Regions from separate parts of the Homo sapiens genome. Here all the other regions are linked to region 1. Evidence: promoter capture Hi-C in 16 types of primary human blood cells and fetal thymus (Javierre and others, 2016). All regions are on one chromosome and are shown on one strand. Each heading gives the region's core, a stretch centred on a gene start or on the middle of the fragment in contact. The rest is flanking DNA. Distances are from core to core; before and after follow the strand shown.

What was found. The method cuts DNA at HindIII sites, captures the fragments that hold promoters and counts their contacts. A CHiCAGO score of 5 or more calls a contact.
Region 2: the fragment with the promoter of CXorf65 here is called in contact with the fragment with the promoter of BTK in region 1 in 1 of 17 cell types (total B cells); the score reaches 5.3 in total B cells.
Region 3: a contact is called between a fragment that was not itself captured here and the fragment with the promoter of BTK in region 1, in 1 of 17 cell types (monocytes). The highest score is 5.4, in monocytes.

Annotation. Positions count from the first base shown.
Region 1 is chrX:101,384,181-101,387,873 of GRCh38, forward strand. It overlaps BTK (Bruton tyrosine kinase), which reads right to left and starts at 2,011. Exons shown (of 19, transcript NM_000061.3): 1 at 1,882-2,011. RefSeq lists an enhancer at 1,278-1,497. The HindIII fragment of the contact is 7,609 bases long and covers 845-3,693 here.
Region 2 is chrX:71,104,345-71,108,037 of GRCh38, forward strand. CXorf65 (chromosome X open reading frame 65) reads right to left here and starts at 2,396. Exons shown (of 6, transcript NM_001025265.3): 1 at 2,188-2,396; 2 at 1,996-2,082; 3 at 1,656-1,793; 4 at 425-493; 5 at 1-60. The coding sequence starts at 2,212. IL2RG (interleukin 2 receptor subunit gamma) reads right to left here. Exons shown (of 8, transcript NM_000206.3): 8 at 3,060-3,577. The coding sequence ends at 3,392. The HindIII fragment of the contact is 6,290 bases long and covers 1-3,693 here.
Region 3 is chrX:75,273,609-75,277,301 of GRCh38, forward strand. It overlaps UPRT (uracil phosphoribosyltransferase homolog), which reads left to right and starts at 477. Exons shown (of 7, transcript NM_145052.4): 1 at 477-1,032. The coding sequence starts at 647. LOC124905200 (a long non-coding RNA gene) reads right to left here and starts at 428. Exons shown (of 4, transcript XR_007068269.1): 1 at 1-428. RefSeq lists enhancers at 368-417, 438-487, 648-857. The HindIII fragment of the contact is 1,002 bases long and covers 1,569-2,570 here.

The DNA.
Region 1 (3,693 bases), core at 761-3,260:
GAAAGGAAACTCTATAGGAAATTTGCTCAAATGGAAATAGCAAATCATAGTGATAATTTAAAATTGCACCAATCCCCCATAACTGGATGGAAAGTTACATTAGTTCGCACCATAAGGAGTTTACAAAGAATTCCAGGGTGGGTGCGGTGGCTCACGCCTGTAATCCTAGCACTTTGGGAGGCCCAAGCAGGCAGATCACCTGAGGTTGGGAGTTCGAGACCAGCCTGACCAACATGGAGAAACCCCGTCTCTACTAGAAATACAAAATTAGCTGGGCGTGGTGGCACATGCCTGTAATCCCAGCTACTTGGGAGGCTGAGGCAGGAGAATTGTTTGAACCCGGGAGGCGGAGGTTGCGGTGAGCTGAGATCCCGAGATCGTGCCATTGCACTCCAGCCTGGGCAGCAAGAGTGAAACTCCGTGTCAAAAAAAAAAAAAAAAAATTCCAAACAAAAATATCAATAGCCATACGCAATGGAAATTTGGACTTCAACACAAGCAAGCAGTTTAAATAGTTTGAATATAAAAGGAGTCAGAATAGACAGGACAAGCCCTAAGGGACACTGTTTGGGTATAATGCTTTAGGTTGCCATGAGTATTTGCATTTTGTGGCTTATTTGGAAAGTGACATTATTTTATCAAATAACTGAGGCTCCAGAGAGGCTGGAGTCTGGGCAACTTATCCAAGGATGTCTTGATTGGGGTCACCAATCACTTTTATTCTAAATGTCATATTATTTGCTCTAGGTAGGCCCTCTGGGGGACATTGGCAGGTCTGAGGCAGAGTAAAAATTATAGCAAATACTGAGATCCAGCACTTACTATTGCCAGGCCCTGTTTTAAAAGCTTTACATGTATTTGCACATTTACTGCTCACAACCACCTTATGGGGAAGGTGCTAGGCAGGCAGGGAGGAGGAAATGGAAAGGGAAAGGAAAAGGGAAAAGAGCGGGGGAAGAAAGGAGCAAGAAAAAGTCAATGCAATTCGGCAATTATTTGTTAAGTGCTAACTGTATGTCAGGGTCTGGTAATCAACAGAACAGAGGAGGGTATAATGAAGAGGGGATATAGGTAGAGAAAAGAGGATGAGTGGGAAGAGGAGGAGGTTGGAGAGGAGGAAAGGAAAGGAGAAATAATGAAGACAAGAGAAAAGCAAGCCATGCACATGGAGGGCAATGGTAAGAGGAGAAACCTTTGCCACAACCTCAAGGGTTGGCCGCACTGTCTGGGCTGAGGCAGAGGCTGCTTTCTCCTGGCCCAGTCTTTTACCCATTGTTACCACGAGGTTGGCACAGCTTCCACACAGTCCTTTAATAAGCCAGCTCTGACCCTGGCGACATTTGGCCTGGTACAGCTCAAGGCAGGTAGCCTACACCCTGGCCTAGCCAGGCCTTTCCCTAGCTCACAAAGGTCAACTTCATAACGTGGAGCGTGAGCTTTTACCATGTTCTCAGAGAATCTGCCTCTTAGTATTTCTTTTTCTAAAGGCTTCATTGACCCATGTATCCCTATTGAGTCTTCAAGCACTATTTGACAGAAGGGCTTGTTTTTATCTGACTGCTCCCTGCAATATTACTTTTCCACTAAGTTTGCCAGAGGTACCCCTTTCTAACATTTGCTACCTGTTCGGATGGTCACCTCATGTCACATTTTTCTCTTCCTGTTCCGCCCACCCTCAGCCCTTGTCGGAAAGGACCCTTTCGGCCTCTCTAATCACCAGAAGGGACTGCCAGGGCCTTGTGCTGATGACACTCCCACCCTCCGTCAGCCTCCTCCACTAGCTGATAAATGGCACCAGCCATGCTGTCTCTCTGGTTTTTAGGGGTCCCAAGCAAGGTACATTGCTGCTGCTGCCCAGCCCCTGCCATACCCCAGACCCACCTCAGTCCTGACTTAATGCAGGTAGCTTCCCAGATGCATTGAGATGCCAGGACTTGGAAGGTGGGACTCGATCGCAGCAGACACTGGCCCTGGAGACATATTCTTACAGTCCAGAGAGGAAGGACAGTCTGAGCAAACCCCACCCTTTCACAGCCACTCAGTTCCCTTTTTTTGCTTCCTGACCTAAACCAATGTCTTTTTTTCTTCTCAGCAGCATGCTATCTGGTTCCCTGCTGCCGTCCCTATTCCACCCCCTCAACTGTCCCCGCCCTTCATTTGCTTGGGACCTCTGACACTACTATCTTGAGTCTATCTTTGAAAGAACCTTTCTCAACATGACTGGGGCCACTGAGACTCTAGATGGGGCTGGCCTGAGCAGACAGGTCATCAAGCTATCCTCCCAGAGGTAAAGGGACAACATACCTAAAGTACTATGAAGACAGTCAGCACAGGGAGAGGGGCTTACAGGAAAGAGGAGAGATGCTGGGGGCTGGCAGACACAGAGCAAAGAGACTGGCCAGGAAGAGCGTTTTTCGAGTCTCCTGTCCTCCGGGGCAGAGGAGTCTCAGGGACACACAGTTGAACTTGATAGTGAAGGGACCCCAAAGGACAAAACAAGACAGAGGTAGAGACAAGACTTCCCCGTGCTGAGTCATTTTCTAAGAAAGCATTTTTCCCCTACAGATAAAAATGTCGGAATATAAGCCCACAGAAATACTTGTGCCCTTCCCCATTTTCTGTGGATGTTGACTTTCTCCATTTAAGATTTGGCCTCAGGGATTAACTCTCAATGTCCACCTTTCTCTTGAGTCCTGTAAACCGGTAAAGCAGACTAGGTATGTCACTTGAAGCCTGGAGGTTTTCTCAGGGGCCCCCTACATTATGCTCCAACTGCAATGATTCCCCCAGGGATTCTCCTAGGAAATGCAGCCAGTATTGAATGCAGACCATGATGGTGGAGCCCCTGCTGACTGATCTGCCTGCCCACCTTGACACCTCGGGCACTGCCATATTTCCTTGCCCCAAGGCACTGTATCCTAATGTAGAAACAGATCACAGGTCCCACTACAATTTCATCCGAAGTTTTAAGTCAACAGGACCTTATTTTTTTTTCTTTATTTTGTCTAAAAAACAAACAAACAAGCAAACAAAAAAAATGGGGTATATGTGCAGAAGGTGCAAGTTTGTTACATAGGTATATGTGTGACATGGTGATTTGCTGCACCTATTGACCCATCCTCTAAGATCCCTCCCCTCACCCCCAAGCCCCAACAGGCCCTGGGACCTTTTTTTTTTTTTTTTTTTTTTGAGACAGGGTCTTGCTCTGAAGCCCAGGTTGGAGTGCAGTGGCGTGATCATGGCTCACTGCAGCCTCCACCTCCTGGGCTCAAGTGATCCTCTCACCTCAGTCACCCTAGTACCTGGGACTATAGGCACACATCACTGTGCTGGGCTAATTTTTCTACTTTTTGTAGAGATGGGGTTTCACTATGTTGCCCAGGCTGGTCTCAAACTCCTGGGCTCAAGCGATACTCCTGCCTTGGCCTCCCAAAATGCAGGGATTACAGGAGTGAGCCACCTCTCCCAGCCATCAACAGGACTTTAAATAAAAACATTTAAAGTATTTGTAGACTGATGATAGAGTGGTTGATACTCACATTTGCACAAGACAGATGGACAGCATGTGTTGTATGATTGCCTTACTTTATTGACAACGTCTATCCTTTCGCTAGTCACCCCCAATAGCTGTTCCACTCACCTGCCTGAGGGTTGGCCACAGGCATTCATCTTCCCTCCTCTTTTCTTCAGTTT
Region 2 (3,693 bases), core at 1,146-3,645, about 30 Mb before region 1:
TCATTTTAAGCATCTGAATTCGTCTCCTCTCCAGGGCATCACATTGTATGCGCAGTGCAACTAAGAACAAGGAAAAGGCACCTGCACCTCTGAGAACTAGAGACCTTACCCTTCCTGATGCTCCCATTCATTGTTCAAACCATCAGCTGGAGCCCCACTTGGCCTAAGATGGAAATGATGGAATGGTGACAGGGAGATATACGGAGAAGATGGCCAAGAAATGGGGGAAGTGGGGAGTAACGCATGCACATTCCACCTGGTGTGAGCTAAACGTCCCTCCTAAAGTGGACCTGGACCCTGCCCGCCTTTTCCTAGGCTCCTATCATCTGACCTACCATATCACGCTAGTCCCACCCTACATTCTCCATCACACAGCTATATACTGTACCCTTCATGTTCTTCCCTCCCCCATCTCACTTCTTACCAAGCAGCCAAGGCTCCGGATTCTTGAGGAGAGGCACAAAAGCTCTGTAAGCATTCTCCAGCCTGGTTCCTGTGAACATAGCCATGTGCTATCTCCAGCCCCTGTCATCCAGTCTCCACCCTTCAGAAGTCCAAGATTCCAGGACCTAACACTAAAGACTACCCGCCAGATGCGGTGGCTCACGCCTGTAATCCCAGCATTTTGGGAGGCCAAGGTGGGCGGATCACTTGAGGTCAGGAGTTCCAGACTAGCCTGGCCAATTCGAGACTAGCCTGGCCAATTTGGTGAAACCCCATCTCTACCAAAAATACAAACAAACAAAAAAAATTAGCTGGGCATGGTGGTGGGCGCCTGTAATCCCAGCTACTCCGGAGGCTGAGGCAGGAGAATCACTTGAACCCAGGAGGCAGAGGTTGCAGTGAGCCAAGATCATGCCACTGTTTCAGCCTGGGTGACAGAGCAAGACTCCATCACAAAAAATAAAATAAATAAATAAATAAAAATAAAGACTACCTTGCCGGGCACAGTGGCTCACGCCTGTAATCCCAGCACTTTGGGAGGCTGAGGTGGGTGGATCACCTGAGGTCAGGAGTTCAAGACCAGCTTGGCCAACATGGTGAAACCCCATCTGCACTAAAAAATTAGTTGGGCCTGGTGGCGGGTGCCTGTAGTCCCAGCTACTCAGGAGGCTAAGACAGGAGAATCGCTTGAACCTGGGAGGCAGAGGTTGCAGTGAGCTGAGATCGCGCCATTGCACTCCAGCCTGGACAACTGGACAACAAGAGCGAAACTCTGTCCCAAAAAAAAAAAAAAAAAAACCTACCTTGAGCTGGTGGATATTTCTTCCCCTTAGGTATGGACCTAGGGGAGAGTATGTGTGAGGTAACCTATTATTATAGAGGCAGTACCCTTCCTTAGGCTGACTAGAGATGGTCAATTTGGATCTGGTTGAGGGTGTTCTGTTGTTTGAGGGTGTTCTGTTTTTTGTTTTAATTTGGTTTTGGTTGTTTTTGGTTTTGGTTTTGGTTTTGGAGGCAGGCTCTTGTTATGTTGCCCAGGCTGGTCTCAAACTCCTGCCCTCTATCGATTCTCCCGCCTTGGCCTCTCAAAGTGCTGAGATTACAAGCATGAGCCACTATGCCCAGCCTTGGATGCCTTGTTTTAAAGATAAGGTTCATAATCTATCTTGAAGGCCTTATTCTATTTCTGGGGAACACTCCTGAGCCTCTACCTGGTGGCCCACGTTCCACCTTACAAACGTAGTAGGTGCTTCGAGCTGTAAGGTATTTGCTGGCATACTCTGCATGATTGGGCTTCATCAGGAAAAGCATCTTCATTTTCCCCGTTTGTTCACACAAATCGATGGTGTCTGGAGGGAGATCACAGGGTAATTGGGGCAGCTAAGGAAAGAGAGTGGGAGCAAAAGGGGCCAGTGATCCTATACAAAATGGGTTGGAGGAAGCTCTAAGGATATGAGGAACTCCCTTCTTGCCAGGAGGAGGGCTTGGGGGTTAGAGATGACCCAACTCCTTCTGACCTTTGGCCATTAGTCCCCTCCCTAAGCTCCTCACTTGTTTTAGGCAACTTTACTTTACTGCGGATGTAATACAGCAACACGACGACAGCACAGTTGGTATTGACCAGAAACTGCTGATTATCTGAGAAGAGATAGGATGGGACACATGGGCCCATTTCTGTGATCTCCACTGCCCTCAGATCCCTCCACCCCCATCCACAGACTCTAGTTCTGTGCTGCCCCTCACCTCCATGTTTGATGAAGATGAACATGCCCTCAAGATCGCCTCACTCTTCACAAAGTGCCCTGATGAGTCATGCAGAAGGAGGGTGTTCTAGAGGCCTTGTGTGGGGCAAATAGGCCTATAGGGTTGGTGGACTAGAGAGGCAGATGGATTTCATAGGCTGAGGATGCCCAGGCTGGACAGGCAGGAGAGAGCTGTTGATAGTTGTGGATAACCAGTATCCCCAGGGGTGGGGCCTGAGACTGCAGTTAAGGGATTATGAGGTCAGAAGTGGCAGGTGTGGCCAAAAAGTGGAGTAAGGGTAAGGAGAGAAAAACTTGGGTGGGGTATGTTAAAGATTAGTTGGAAAGGGGGGACAACATGGTAAGTCTAACTTTTTTTATTTTTTTTATTTTTTTAGATGGAGTCTCCCTCTGTCGCCCAGGCTGGAGTGCAGTGGCACAATCTTGGCTCACTGCATCCTCTACCTCCTGGGTTCAAGCGATTCTCCTGCCTCAGCCTCCCAAGTAGCTGGAATTACAGGAGCACACCATCACGCCTGGCTAATTTTTGTATTTTTAGTAGAGACGGGGTTTCACCATGTTGGCCAGGCTGGTCTCGATCTCCTGACCTCGTGATCCACCCGCTTTGGCCTCCCAAAGTGCTGGGATTACAGGCGTGAGCCACCACGCCCAGCCCATTGTAAGTCTAACTCTAAACTAAACCCTGGAATGAGTGCAGGGCACCTGGAAAAAAGTCAGTTTCCAGAACAGTACTCTTTCTAGCAAATTGGTAATACTCCTGCCTCCACAGCATGAATGTACTACTCCTTTTTCTTCCCCTCCCACCCTCATTGCATCCCAGGCTTCCCCTGCTCCCCACCCCCATGACAGACATTTTTGATGATTATCAACAGAAACTTTATTTCTCATCGGTTCAGGAACAATCGGAGGGTAGATGGAAAGAGGAAGGGAGGGAAAGAGGGAGGGAGGAAGAATCCTGCGAAAAGGAAGGGCCAGACTGAGGGAGAAGAAAAACATGTTCGGGGCAAAAGGGTAATTCTCAAGTGGGGAATGCCAAATGAAGGGGTGCTTACATGGGGGCACAAAATTCCAAATCAGCCACAGTGGGGTGAGGTGAGTATGAGACGCAGGTGGGTTGAATGAAGGAAAGTTAGTACCACTTAGGGCTACAGGACCCTGGGGTTCTTCTGTCAGAGGATTGGGGTTCAGGTTTCAGGCTTTAGGGTGTAACATGGGGGGGCCCAGTAGGGGCTATGCTGGTTGCATGGGGAGGCCCCAGGCCCCTCCCCAAGGGCCCCTCCTTTTGGGGGAATCTCACTGACGAGGCAGAGTCGTTCACTGTAGTCTGGCTGCAGACTCTCAGCCAGTCCCTTAGACACACCACTCCAGGCCTAAAGACAGATATGTCCAGGTCAGGGGTCAATTAGGGGCAGGAAGTAAAAGACCGAGCTCTGTGCCAAAGGAGTACTCATGATGTCTGCAACCACTGTAATTGATTACAGAAGGG
Region 3 (3,693 bases), core at 820-3,319, about 26 Mb before region 1:
CAATAAAGATAAGAAAAGCTTTGGCGGTCAAGCATACTTGGGAAGCTGCAGTTTCTAGAACAGTCTAGTAGAGGACAGCCTCTTCAGCAGCCTGCTAGGCATTTTTTTACTTCTTCCTTCTGTTATGCAGACAAGCTAACTGAAGATGCGGTTACTGAGATATAATTTCTCTGCTAGGTCACAAAGTCTGAAAACATGGGCCTTACGTGTGTAACTGTGTATCATCACCTGCCACCCCCAGTTTTTCCTGGCTCTACTAATCACCCAAAGTTCTGAATGCAGAAGCCCCAGGGGCCCCCGGAAGATCCTTCAAGCTGGCATCCTTGGCCTCGCTGCGGGGGCTTAGCTACCTGTGGGAACCCACGTAGCAAGGGTGACTCAAAGGGTTAACAAGCAGTGGCGCCGCAGAGTGGCGGGGAGTGCAGCCAATAGGGTGTCTAGGCAGGCAGTACGTCTGGTGTGGGCGGGAGTGAGCCAAAGTGTGCTAAAGGAAACCAACAGCGGCCTAGGGGTGAAAGGACAGCCAGGGTTAGATGTTCTGAGGAGGCGGGAGCAACCGAGAGAGCACGTGAGCATCTGTCCTTTCTACCCGTTCCTCTTTATCTTTAGTGTTCAGTAGCAGCGGGGATAGCCCGGGGCCCGGTGTATGGCCACGGAGTTACAGTGTCCGGACTCCATGCCCTGTCACAACCAGCAAGTAAACTCTGCCTCAACCCCAAGTCCCGAGCAGCTGCGACCTGGCGATCTGATCCTGGACCACGCAGGGGGAAACAGAGCCTCCAGGGCCAAGGTGATTCTCCTCACGGGGTACGCCCATTCTAGCCTGCCGGCCGAGCTGGACTCTGGGGCCTGCGGCGGCTCCAGCCTCAACTCAGAGGGCAACAGTGGTAGTGGTGACAGTAGCAGCTATGACGCACCAGCTGGCAACTCCTTCCTAGAGGACTGCGAACTCTCCCGGCAGATCGGGGCGCAGCTTAAGCTGCTGCCTATGAATGATCAGATACGGGAGCTACAGACCATCATCCGTGACAAGTAAGCCAAGAGCGGAAGGGGAAAGGGAAGTGGAGGGTCTTGCAGGCTGTGGGCGGGGATTGGAAGTAAAAGGGCTAAGAGACAGTGTTCTTGGCCTTGGCAAACTTTGGAGATTGGGGTAAGACCTTTTATTTGGTGTGTGTGTGTGTGTGTGTGTGTGTGTGTGTGTGTGTGTGTCGTGTAACTCGAACGCCAACCTTCTCTTTCCAAGTTCCGGTGTCTAACATCACTTTGGGTGGGGAGGAAGACTTTAGGTAGCCTCTGGGCTCTTTGTCTCTCCCAGGAAAGACAACTCCTTGGCCATTCCAGGCAGGTAAACTCCCCTATACTATGTGGGCAGTGCTTGTCCACATGGTAAACCTATAACCCAGAAATGGTTACTATCCAAGGTTATGCACTACCACCAATCACCTCAGGTTCATAAATAGAAATAAAGCAATTTCAAGGAAATTCTATTCAGGCCCTGACCCTTTAGTATTTGCTACTGCAAACAAGGTCTTTTAGTCTTGGAGTTCAGGTTTACTTGATCACATGAAAGCTTATCGTCCAACTCTTATCATTTTTCACTGTAAACTCACAGAACATAGTTAATGGATCAAAGGGAGCCTAAAGGAGCCTTTGGCCCTTCCTAATCCCACAAACCAATGTAGCCAGAACTTCATGTTAAAATGTAATTTTGAAATTTCTAAACCTACGTTGTAAATGGGTTTTCTCCAGGGAAATATGTACCATGATGAACTACAGCTATTTTCTTTATTGGCAGCACTTTAAATGAGCAGCATATCAAAACACCCCTTTTTTAGTGGCAGGGGTTGGGGGGACATGCCTTGATCTTTTAAAAATGGCTACTGAATGACAGATGCCACTCCCTAAACCAGACTCTAGAAACCTTGTCTTACACTATTGTAATAATACTGTTTCTCTGCTTGCAGTTTTTCCTCTCTTCCACATGCACCCATACATTACTGTACAATCAATCTTCATAACATACATCTTTGATTCAGTAATTGCCCTACTCAGCAACCTTCTTTGGCTTCTCAGAGCCTACCAAATAAAGTCCAGGATCCTTAGCTTGATTGATATTTTTGAGACAGGATCTTTCTCTGTCACCCAGGCTGGAGTGCAGTGGTGAGATCACAGCTTACTGTACCCTCATACTTCTGGGCTCAAGTAATCCTCCTGCCTTAGCCTCCTGAGTAGCTGGGACTACAGGGACATGGCACTGCCCCCCGGCTAATTTTTTATTTTTTTGTAGAGATGGAGGTCTTGCTATATTGTCCACGATGGTCTTGAACTCCTGGCCTCAAGCAATCCTCGTGCCTCGGCCTCCTAAAATGTTGGGATTACAGGTGTGAGCCACCATGCCTGGCCCCCTTAGCTTGGGATGAAGGCCCTTCTTCATAGTTCCTAGGAACAATTCTGAAACATATCTGTTTCTGCTCTCATCTGGAATTCCCTGTGTCTCCTTTATGTACGTTCAGGATACTTATTCTTCAGGGTGAAACACAGCATTAAATAATTGTCCACCTCTGCCAAGAAGCTTCCCTTTAATCATTATTCCTGGCTTATCTTCCCTGGTCTTTTTAATGCAAGATTCACCTTCTTTTTCGTATATTGTTATTTTTGTATAGATCTTATCCTGCCTATGACATCTTGAAGGCAGAAATCTTTTACATTTTTGAATGCCGGCCATGCCTTGCAAATAATAGATGCTCAATTACTAGAGTTTTTTTGTAGCTCTTAAAATTATATTTATGAAACTATACTATTTTACTCTTTTTAATGAATCAATATTGAAAACTACTGTGGTTATGTTATCTAATAGACAAAATAGTGATCCTAAAAAATAGGAGGCATAGGTTTGCTGTAGTTGTGGTAGGGTAGGGGCAGCCAAAATAAATCTTACATATACAACAAAGAAAAATAGATGATGATTCTTGTTTCTATAGAGCAGAAGTTACTACGCTTGGGTCTTCGACTCCCTCGTACCAGTAGATGGGTTCAGGGCTTTAACAAACCCTCATAAATTAACTGGGAAATTTTACTCATATGAAGATTTTTAATAGTTGTTTTTAAATAACATCTTTATTGAGATATAATTCACAGACCATACAGTTCAAGAATTTAAAGTGTATAATTCAGTGGTTTTAAGTATGTTCACAGCTGTGCATTCATCACCACAGTTTTAGAACATTTGTCATCACCCCAGCAAGAAACCTCATGCCCATTAAACAGTCACTCCCCATTTTCACCCAACCCACCCAAAGCCCTAGACAATCATTAATCTACTTTCTATTTCTAATGGTTTGCCCATTCTGCACATTACATATAAAAAATGTCTATTCTGGACATTTCATTATCATACAATATGTGGTCATTTTGTGACTCATTTCATTTAGCATGTTTTCAAGGTTCATCCGTGTGGGATCTTTCCTTTTTATGATTAAATGATACTCCATTATATGAATATACCACAATTTGTTTATCCATCAGTTGGTGAACATTTGGGTGGTTTACCACTCTTTGGCTATTATGAATAATGCTGCTATGAACATTCACATATGTGCCTTTTTTTTTAGAGGGTGAGGATTCCTTAGTTTTTTAGATTTCACAAAGTGTCATGATAATGTAAAGGTGAAGTGCCCTTGCTATAGCGCTTGG